2 separate regions of the Homo sapiens genome follow, and region 1 is linked to region 2. Evidence: promoter capture Hi-C in human tissues and cell types (Jung and others, 2019). All regions are on one chromosome and are shown on one strand. Each heading gives the region's core, a stretch centred on a gene start or on the middle of the fragment in contact. The rest is flanking DNA. Distances are from core to core; before and after follow the strand shown.

What was found. The method cuts DNA at HindIII sites, captures the fragments that hold promoters and counts their contacts. A contact is called where the count stands out against the background at its distance.
Region 1: a fragment that was not itself captured here is called in contact with the fragment with the promoter of WNT3A in region 2 in 1 of the 25 tissues and cell types used here (spleen).

What each region holds. Positions count from the first base shown.
Region 1 is chr1:228,354,223-228,358,850 of GRCh38, forward strand. All of the region lies in intron 90 of OBSCN (obscurin, cytoskeletal calmodulin and titin-interacting RhoGEF), which reads left to right. LOC101927401 (a long non-coding RNA gene) reads right to left here. Exons shown (of 9, transcript XR_007066915.1): 9 at 2,815-4,628. Among named protein-coding and RNA genes, the nearest start is that of TRIM11-AS1, 38 kb to the right of the region's middle. The HindIII fragment of the contact is 8,299 bases long and covers 1-4,628 here.
Region 2 is chr1:228,004,598-228,008,940 of GRCh38, forward strand. WNT3A (Wnt family member 3A) reads left to right here and starts at 2,401. Exons shown (of 4, transcript NM_033131.4): 1 at 2,401-2,602. The coding sequence starts at 2,532. The HindIII fragment of the contact is 17,022 bases long and covers 262-4,343 here.

The DNA.
Region 1 (4,628 bases), core at 353-2,852, 350 kb after region 2:
GTGGCCATAGCACCACACAGAACTGCTTCTGGAGCCGCCAGCACCTCAGCCTCCCATGAGTCTTGTGTCTCATGGCCAGCTGGGACACCCAGGGCTGCCTCTTGCTGGTGACAGGAGCGTCCTCCACAGTCGTTCACTTGGCTGTCACAACAAGTCTTTCTCTGGGTCTGGAGGAGGGGGTGGCAGGGGAGAGAGGCCACCAGTGCTGGACAGAGTGTCAGCGCCTCAGCAAGGTGAGAATGCAGGTCCTTGAAGAGCCTGGAGCTGGAGCCAACGCCTCCCCGCTTCTAACTCCTATCCTGCTGCTTCATCTTTAACCCAGCAGCTCTGCAGCCCAAACAGGCCCTGGCAGGCCTCTGCGGGGTGGGCGCTGCCCCCTCACTTGTGAATCATGCTGCGCACGGCTGCATCCCTCCTGTAGTCGCAAATACTCACTCTGGCCCACAGCCGATCAGGTGACAGTTTAGGTCCATGAATGAAGGTGCCAGAGAGTGTATGGGCCCAGAGGTGCCTGGCTGTCAGCCCCAAGTGCAGGGAGGATGAGTGGGGAGGCCCCGGGTTTTCCCATCACTCTGTGCAGTTCCCATCACTGGCCTGCAGGTAGTGGACACATTGGCTTTCTCTGGGGTCAGCTTAGTCTAAACACACAGAGCCTTTTGGTTGGATCTCATTCTCTCCTCACATGGGCTCTCCTCTCTCCAGGGGGAGCCTGTGAAATACACACCTACACATATGTATACACGTGCATGCACACACGTATGCATGCACATACATCTGTGCACATACACACACTTGCACATGTGTGTGCACAGAAATGCACAGTACTGTGGCTCCCAAGTGCACATATAGACGCAGGCAGTCCCTGAAATTCACGTGCTCCTCACCTGAGACAGGTGTAAAGCCTTTCTCCACATGGCAGTCTAGCAAAGCAGATGGTGTCCCACCCCCTGACCCGGAGCTGTGAGGCCATGTGCCCCAGGCCACGTCACTTGACTTCTGGGCCTCCTGCTCGTTTTTTTCCCTCAGGGTGCTGGGGAGGGTCACTGAGATGTGAAGGTGCTGGTGGCCCGTGGACTGCCCGCTGGCCAGCTGGCTTGGGCTGGGAGGGGGCCATCTTTGTGCCCTGATGATTCTGCCCGGGAGCTGCAGGGGAGAGTCCTTGAGGTGACTGGGAGGAGGAGCTGCCTGATCCCAGATGCGTCCCATCCGATCACTGGAACCACAGGCCCCATCCTGCTGGCTCTGGGGAGGGAGGCAGCTAGGAAAACCTGGAGAGACCATGGAGTGTGTGGACTGAGGATGCTCCTATAGGGAGATTTGGGCTGACGCTCACTCAGAGCTCAGCACCCTGCCCAGGCATCCCCTGGGGCTGTTCTTGGTAGGACTTCTGTGGCTTTGCGCCACAAAGCTCAGTTGTGCCACTTTCAGGACTCCAGAGTCCCTCTCTCCTGAGGATTTTTTGTAACAGAGTCCCCAGCTGCCTCAGCCTCAGTGTGGCCGCTGGCTCCCTGTGCAGCCACAGGCCATTTATTCCCTTCTAGGACTCGGTTTCTATGTCTGAGAAGTGGGATTGTAGGTCTGACAAATTCACGGGGCTCCCTTGGCACATGGGTTGAAGGAGAAGCTGGAATTTCTGTGCAGGGAGCGTAGGTAGGGTCCTCATTCTCCCCCCAGTCCCTGCAAGACCCTCGAGAGGGACAGTGGGTCCTGCCTTCACGAGGGGAAGCATTGTCCTCAGCCCTCATTCCGCAGCCACTCAGGACAGGCATCGTCACCTCCATGTCAGAGGCCCAGGAACTGGGGCTCTGAGTAGACAGGCTGCCCAGGGGCAGCTTAGCAGGTGACTACAACGCTGTGCCACTCCGATAGCTCAGCCCCTAGCACTGGCTGGTCTGTAACCCTCGCTATTCCGACTGTTTTCTTTGTAGTCACTGAGCAAGAGACTAAAGTCCCCAAGAAAACCGTCATCATGTAAGTGCAGGCGTGTTCCTAACCTTCCTTCTGACTGCAGTGCCTCCTGCATGCCACTGACCTGCCTGGATCATGCCTGTGTGGCCCAGCCACCTGCTTGCTGCCTGTCTGCTCACATAACATGCACCCTCTGACTGCCAGCACCTTACAGGTACTTGCAGTTACCTTGCATAGGCACCTTCCCCTGGGGCCTCGATTACTTCCACACTTCACAGCGCTCTCTTCCAGGGCCTCAGTACACTCCGTGGTCCCACTGTTTCAGCAGAGTAGACTTATTCCACACACTTCACAGTGGTTCATCCAGGGGTTCATCAGGAGCTAGGCCTGAGACCTGCTTTCCTCAGTGGGCCAGAGACAGAATTCTAATCCTCAGCACCCTGGGATTTACGACAGTGTTGTCCAACAGAACTTTCTGTGGTAACAGAAATGTTCTATATCTGCCAGGCGCAGTGGCGCAGGCCTGTAATACCAGCACTTTGGGAGGCCAAGGCAGGTAGATCCCCTGAGGTCAGGAGTTTGAGACCAGCCTGGCCAACATGGTGAAACCCCATCTCTACTAAAAACACAAAAATCAGCCGGGTGTGGTGGCGGGCCCCTGTAATCCCAGCCACTCAGGAGGCTGAGGCAGGAGAATTGCTTGAACCCGGGAGGCAGAGGTTGCAGTGAGCCAAGATCGTGCCACTGCACTCCAGCCTGGGTAATAGAGCAAGCTCTGTCGCGAAGAAAACAAAAAGAAATGTTCTATATCTCCCCTGTCCACCACAGTAGCCACTAGCCACTTGCGTCTGTTGAAGCATCCGGAATGTTGTCCAGTGTGATTGAAGGACAAATTTTAAATTTTAATTTTTGTTCATTTGAATTTAATTTACATAGTGCATTCATAGTGGACAGCACAGCCTTAGGGCCCTTAGAGGTCCCCAAGCCCGATTTTCACATTTGGAAGATGGGGAAACTGAAGTTCAGGGAAGAGAGGAGGTTAGCTCTGGGTGGCTAATGACTGGAAGCCACTTCCCCAGTGCCACACCCACTGTCCTTTTCTTCATCCTTCAGTGCCTCAAGGATTTAGGAAAATCACACATGCTGCTGCTGCTGAGGTAACACAAGAGGACCAGAACTGGGTGAACCCATAAATGTAGAGTTGGTTTTGACCTGAATAATCTGAGAGGACTTCCAATAGAAGGTGTGTGCAGGCGGGAGTGATGGAAGAGCTTGCAAAAGCCAGGAGGCAGGAAAGACTGTGGTTTCCTAAGGCCAGATGGCTGAGAAGCTCCAGGATGGGAAAACTCTTAGTTCTCAAGGGGCCTTCAGTTGGCCGTATTGTGGGAAAATCCCATTGCCAGACATTTGTTGAGATCCTGGGTTAACCCTTCCTTGGCTTTCTCCCTCCTCCCCTAAAACAAGTTGCTCCTATGATGCCACCCCACAATAGATGGGGCTGCCTGGATGCTGGTGAGCACCCCACTCCTGGAGGTATGCAACGGTGCCAGAGCCTCACATAGAGTAGGTCTACATTTTGTCCCTTTGGGAGCACTATTATTATCTACATTTTATGGATAAGAAAATGGAGGAGCAGAGATGGAGCCAGAATGCCCCACTGGCAAAGCTTCAGAGGCGACTCACGCCTAGGGAAAGGAGGACCAGGTGATTTACAAGCATACAAGTCCAGTCTGTTCCAGGCTTAGGAAGGTGGCAACCCTCACTCTGCAAAGCGTAATTTACCCACTCAGCTTGAGGATTGGAGGGAGCCAACTGCATAGGCATAGCGCTGAACCCAAGGGTGGACCACACAGGCAGAGGCACTGGGGAGGCAGTAGGCCTGAGAAGGAAACAGGGCTTGGAGACAGACCCCATATGCTGTGCTTGCAGTCTCAGTACAGGATGCCCATGTGTCCTTGTGGGGGTGGCAGTGAGTCCAGCATTTGGGGGATATTTAGGAGTCCCCATCCACCTGTTGGGCTGCACTCAACTTACCACCCTGCATCAGCAGATCAGGCAACATGAGGTGAGCAGATGGGGTTAGGCCCAGGCTGTCAGCAACAAGCCTACTGCCCTAGAGCCTGGGTGTGAGGCAGGAAATCAGGCCTGTGGGCACAAGTGGGCCACATCTCTGAGCCTCAGCTTCCCCATCAGTTAAGTGGAATATATCACTCCCTCCTTAATAGCTGAGGGCTGGAGGAGGCAGGACCTGTCATTGCTGTGCACCCCAAGGGGTGGTCACACATCTCTGGGCTCATGCCTGGGAGCAACTGCTTCCAGATGGAGCCCTGAGTTAGATGAAAGCAAAACTAAATGAGAGAGAGACAGTACTTTGGACAAAGCAGACAGCTGGCAGTAGCTCACTTGGTGACGACTTTGTCACCTCATACATGCCACATCCCTTGTCTTGAGCCTGAGGGAAGTGCAAGGCTGAGGGCAAAATGAGTAACAGGCAGGGAACTGGTATGTGTTGTGTGTTACTCAGCACGTTCTGCTTCCCTACGTGTTAACTCAGTTTGCTCTCAGTGCTCAGCAAGGTCAGGGGCACCGGGCACCAGAGGAGGACCTGGGCTGACTGCTCTGCTTCTCCCTCTTGGCCCCAGGCAGATTTTCAGCCTCTTTGACCCTCTCTGTCCCCTATAAAGTGGGATCAGACCCTCTCCCAGGTTACTGCAGAGTCA
Region 2 (4,343 bases), core at 1,151-3,650:
CACCCTTGCTCTCCCACTCTGCTCTCCACCCCACCCCAGCCCAGCCCCACTGACTTGGCTGCTCAGGAGCCGAGGCTCTCGGAGGCTCACAGAGGGAAGGAGGAGCCCCACGTGGTACAGGCAGGTACCGAGGAGCTAGTTCCAGAAGCCTCCGCTCGTTCCTCCATGCAGCCTACCCTGGCTCCCTGGTATCCAGAGTCTTCAGAAACAGGAGCCCTCGCTTGAGAGCCTGGCCTGGGCAGGCTGAGCTCCTGCCTGGGGCCTCGGAGTCTGCTCCTCCCTTCATCTTCTGCAGCCTGGGAAGCGGCCGGATCTCAGTGTGTGTACTACCCAGGTGGCACGGGCAGAGGATGGGGCCTGATGGGGGAGAAGAAAGCAGCCAGGAGGAGGGGCTTGGGAAACCAAGGGGCAAGAGGGCAGGACTGAGCAGGCTGCGCTCACCTGCCCCCTTCAGTGAGGTCACGAGGCCCATCCTGTCGGTGGGCAGAGCTGGCATCCTCTAGGGGGCTCTAATCCCCGAGCCTCATTTCTGGGGAGGTGGGGGTAACAAGAGTCTGCGTGCCTCAGGCTGGGCTCAGGCGCCCACCCCACCTGCAGCCCAGGTTTTCCCCAGTACCACAATTGGGTGGGATTTTTGCTGCAAGGCCAAGTCCAGAGGAGCACAAACACGCTCCTCCCCTCCCCCTCCCTGACCCCACCGCCGCTTCATTCCAGAGCTCTTCCCTCTTTCCCTCTGAGGGTGGGGGCCCCGCAGTGCCTGGGAGAAGCGGGTGGGCGGCCGGGCATGCGTAGCGGAAACTGGATTCCCAAGGTAGTGAGGAGCAAAGGGAACTTTTTTTCAAAGAGAAAGGCTGTCACTCTGAATTCAGGACTCCTGACATAGTCACCAGGTGACCCCTAGGGCCGGTGTCCACAGGACCACAGGCTCCCTCTGCAAACGCAGAACCAAGTTGTGAGTGGGGCACACTGTGGGAAGCAGCTGCCTCCATCAGCCAGCCAGTGACACACCTGGGGACATCTCAGCCACCCCCTCCCTGAGAAGCTGCACAGAAGCGGCCACATGCCCATCCCTGCCTCTCCATGCACCTCCCTCCCGCAACTCTGCAGCCGCACAGGAGGCCTAGCCCACAGGCTGGGCAGTGCAGTATCCCCAGAGAACACACCACGGATGAGTCTGGAGTTGCTTGGAGCTCTCAGAAGCTCCCGGAGCCTCCTTCCTCAATTCCAACGCGGTAACCAAGATTCCTGCTGAGCTTAGGTCACAGTGTGACTGCAGGAGGACCAGCCGCGATGGGAGAGTGCCTCTTAACCATCCCAGTTATCAGGTCCCCCGGGGGAGGCTGGGGACACTTCCCCTCTGCAAATTACAATCTCCCCAGGCGGCTCCCGGGGCAACACATGGATATGCAAATGACTGGGAGCTGGAGAGTTGACTGGTCACTGGGTGACCTTGGGCAAGTCACTTTCCCTCTCAGGTCTTCCCCTCTCCATCAGCAAACTCCTAAAGCTTAACTAAACAGTCAGAAATCCCTCTGTCGGAACAGGCTGCATAGCTCTGGGCAGACCTGGAGGTTGGTGGTCCCAGAACCTGGGGGCAGCACTGCGCTTCCCCACCGTCCCATCGCGTCAGGGGCTTCCACTGTTCTCTTCCCTGGTGGAGTGATGGGGAGAAAAATGGAGGGGTCAATCCCTGCGCCACAGAGAGAGTCCCACTCGTCCCCAGCTGTGACCCACAGACGCGTGGCTGCACCTTGGAGGTCCACCTGGCCGCTGTCCCCATTGCAGGCTGCACCCATCCCGGACCCTTTCTATCCGCCGAAGGCGCAGGCAGCTCTGGTCTCAGCGGAAGGAGTCCGGCCGCAGGCAGACGGGGCCAAAGGACGTGCACCCGACAACCGTCCGCTCCCTCCCCAAACCCCCGCCCCGAGAAGGTTGATGGATGAAGGGGAGCCCTAGCCCAGCCACCTCGGGGGCAAGAGACGGAGCTCGCCACAGACCAGGAGCGAGAGGGGGACTGCGGGTCCCACCGTGAGCGCAGGGCGCGCGGGGCTGGAAACCCAGGACGCGGCCCGGGAGCTCCAGGAGGGCGCCTGCGGATCGCGCGGCCCCGGGCCGGCCGCCTGCCCATCTGGCGCACCCCAGCGCGCCGCGCACACCTGGGGGCCCGCACACCAGCACGTCCTCAGACACACCGACACCCACGGCAGCAGGCGGGGGCCAACGCCGCCGCCGCGGTTCGGGCTCCCGTGGCCCCGCCTGCCCCTGCCTGCCCCGCCCGGGCCCCGGCCCCGGCGGGCGCCCCCCGCGGCGCTGCCCCGCCCCCGCCGCCCCGCGCCGCCCCGGGCCTCGGCCCGCAGCCCGGCCGCCGGCCCACCTGGCGCAGCGCCGCCCTCGGAGCCCGCGCACACCCGCGCACCCGCGGCCGCAGGAGGGCCCAGCGACGCCGCCGCGCCAGCTCCCAGGGCCCGGCCCCCCCCGGCGCTCACGCTCTCGGGGCGGACTCCCGGCCCTCCGCGCCCTCTCGCGCGGCGATGGCCCCACTCGGATACTTCTTACTCCTCTGCAGCCTGAAGCAGGCTCTGGGCAGCTACCCGATCTGGTGGTGAGTGAGCCTCCTCGCGTTCGCCCCTGCCCCTGTGCGCCGCGCCCGCAGCAGACGGTCCCCTCGGGCAGGGACCCCGCGGTGGCCCGAGCCCGCGCCCTTCTGCTCCAGCCCCGCGTGCGGGCCGCGGGCGGTTGGTTTTCCTTGACGGCCACTTTGGACCTGTTCAGGCCGCTGGGACGCGTGGGTGGCGGAGTTTCCGGAGACATTGATTCCCGAGCGGGGGAGTAGGGGAGGTTGCGGAGGTCCTAGCTGCCCCTGGCGTCGGACAGGGCGAGCAGTGGGCTGGGGAGAGGCTGAAAGAAGGTCGGCACGCACGGTCACCGAGGGGACAGGCAGCTCGAGGCCAGGGGACAGGCGAGGGAAGAGGGCCAGCGAGAGAGAATTCGCCGGAGACTTTCCTCAAAAACCGTATCTTACACACAAACACACACACACGTTTTAAAACAAAGTCGATGAGACAAGACTGAACAGCTCGGAGCAGCGTGGTTACGTAAAGAAAGCTGGGACCCGGCGGGGAGTGGCGCAGAGCCGGCGGCGGGGCGCACTGGGGGCCGGCCCTGGGCCCCGCGCGCCTCCCCGCCGCAGTCCGGGCACGGGGGTTTCCAGGGGCCCTCTCTGCGAGCCCTCCGCATGGGTCCACCTGGCAATGAGGGGCTGCTGTAGAGAGAGTTAAGGGTGAGTTAAGCACGGGGTGTGAGGGGCTCCAGGACCCTCAATCAGAAAGCGCTGTGCTGCGCCCTCCACACCAGAAAAGGCGCGTTCCGTGAGACCCTCCCCAGCCTGGCGATGGAAGTGCAGATAAACCAAAGGAAGGGTCCCGAAAGGTCTCTCTCAGGCCTCCCACCTCCACTGCACATATCCTGTGGGAGGGGGAACGGTGGCCACACTTTCGCCAGGGCTTGTGATCCCTCAGAGCCCTCACCAAGCAAGGATCACCCCAGTTCCGAATTAAGGGCGCTCTGAGATGCCCAAGATTGAGGAACACAAGTGGGAGGAATGTGGGCGCGCAGGGCCGGGCGCAGCGCTGGTAGGACCCACAGTTGGAGAGAAGCCTCCCCACAAGCATGCACACTCCCCCCCATCCTTCTCCGACGGCAGCCTGGAATTATAATAATTACGCCGAGGGGAAGGGGGGAGACCCAGCGAGCCGAGGTACATCTAATCCGATAATAATTTTTCTCTTCGAGATGGTTCAGGAGCGGGGGCTCCCGCGGTAGGGGCGCCGGGCCAGGAGCAGCGGGGAGGGGAAGGGGCAGCCCTAGGCAGCTGAAGGGCCTGGAAGAGGCCACGAGGCCGCGGGGACGCGCTTCGGGGACCCCCGCGCGCCCCTATTTCCGCGTGCCCCATTTCCCGTGCGGCACCTGCTGCGCCCAGTGGCCCACCTGAGGGTCAGGCTCGGGGCTCGCCTTGGGGTGCGGGGATACTGACGCGCGTCCAGACGGCCGCAGGGAGCCAGGGGCAGCGCGTCCGTCCGAGAGAGCCCCGAGGGCTGCCGGCTTACGCACCAGGCTTCTAATTAGAACCCGCCGCCGCGTTCCTGAGCGCAAAAGGAAGCTCCTTCGCCCCGCGCCCTTCCCATAAATGTCGCCAGCCTCCTGGCAACCCCGCGCCCTAGGATCTTTGTCTTGTCGGCCCTGAGGGTTCCTAGCCTCGGTCCCCATCCACCTCATATGCATGTATACCTCCTTTTCACCTGGGCCCCCTGTGTTCTACCCTGAATGGACCCTGAGACACCCTC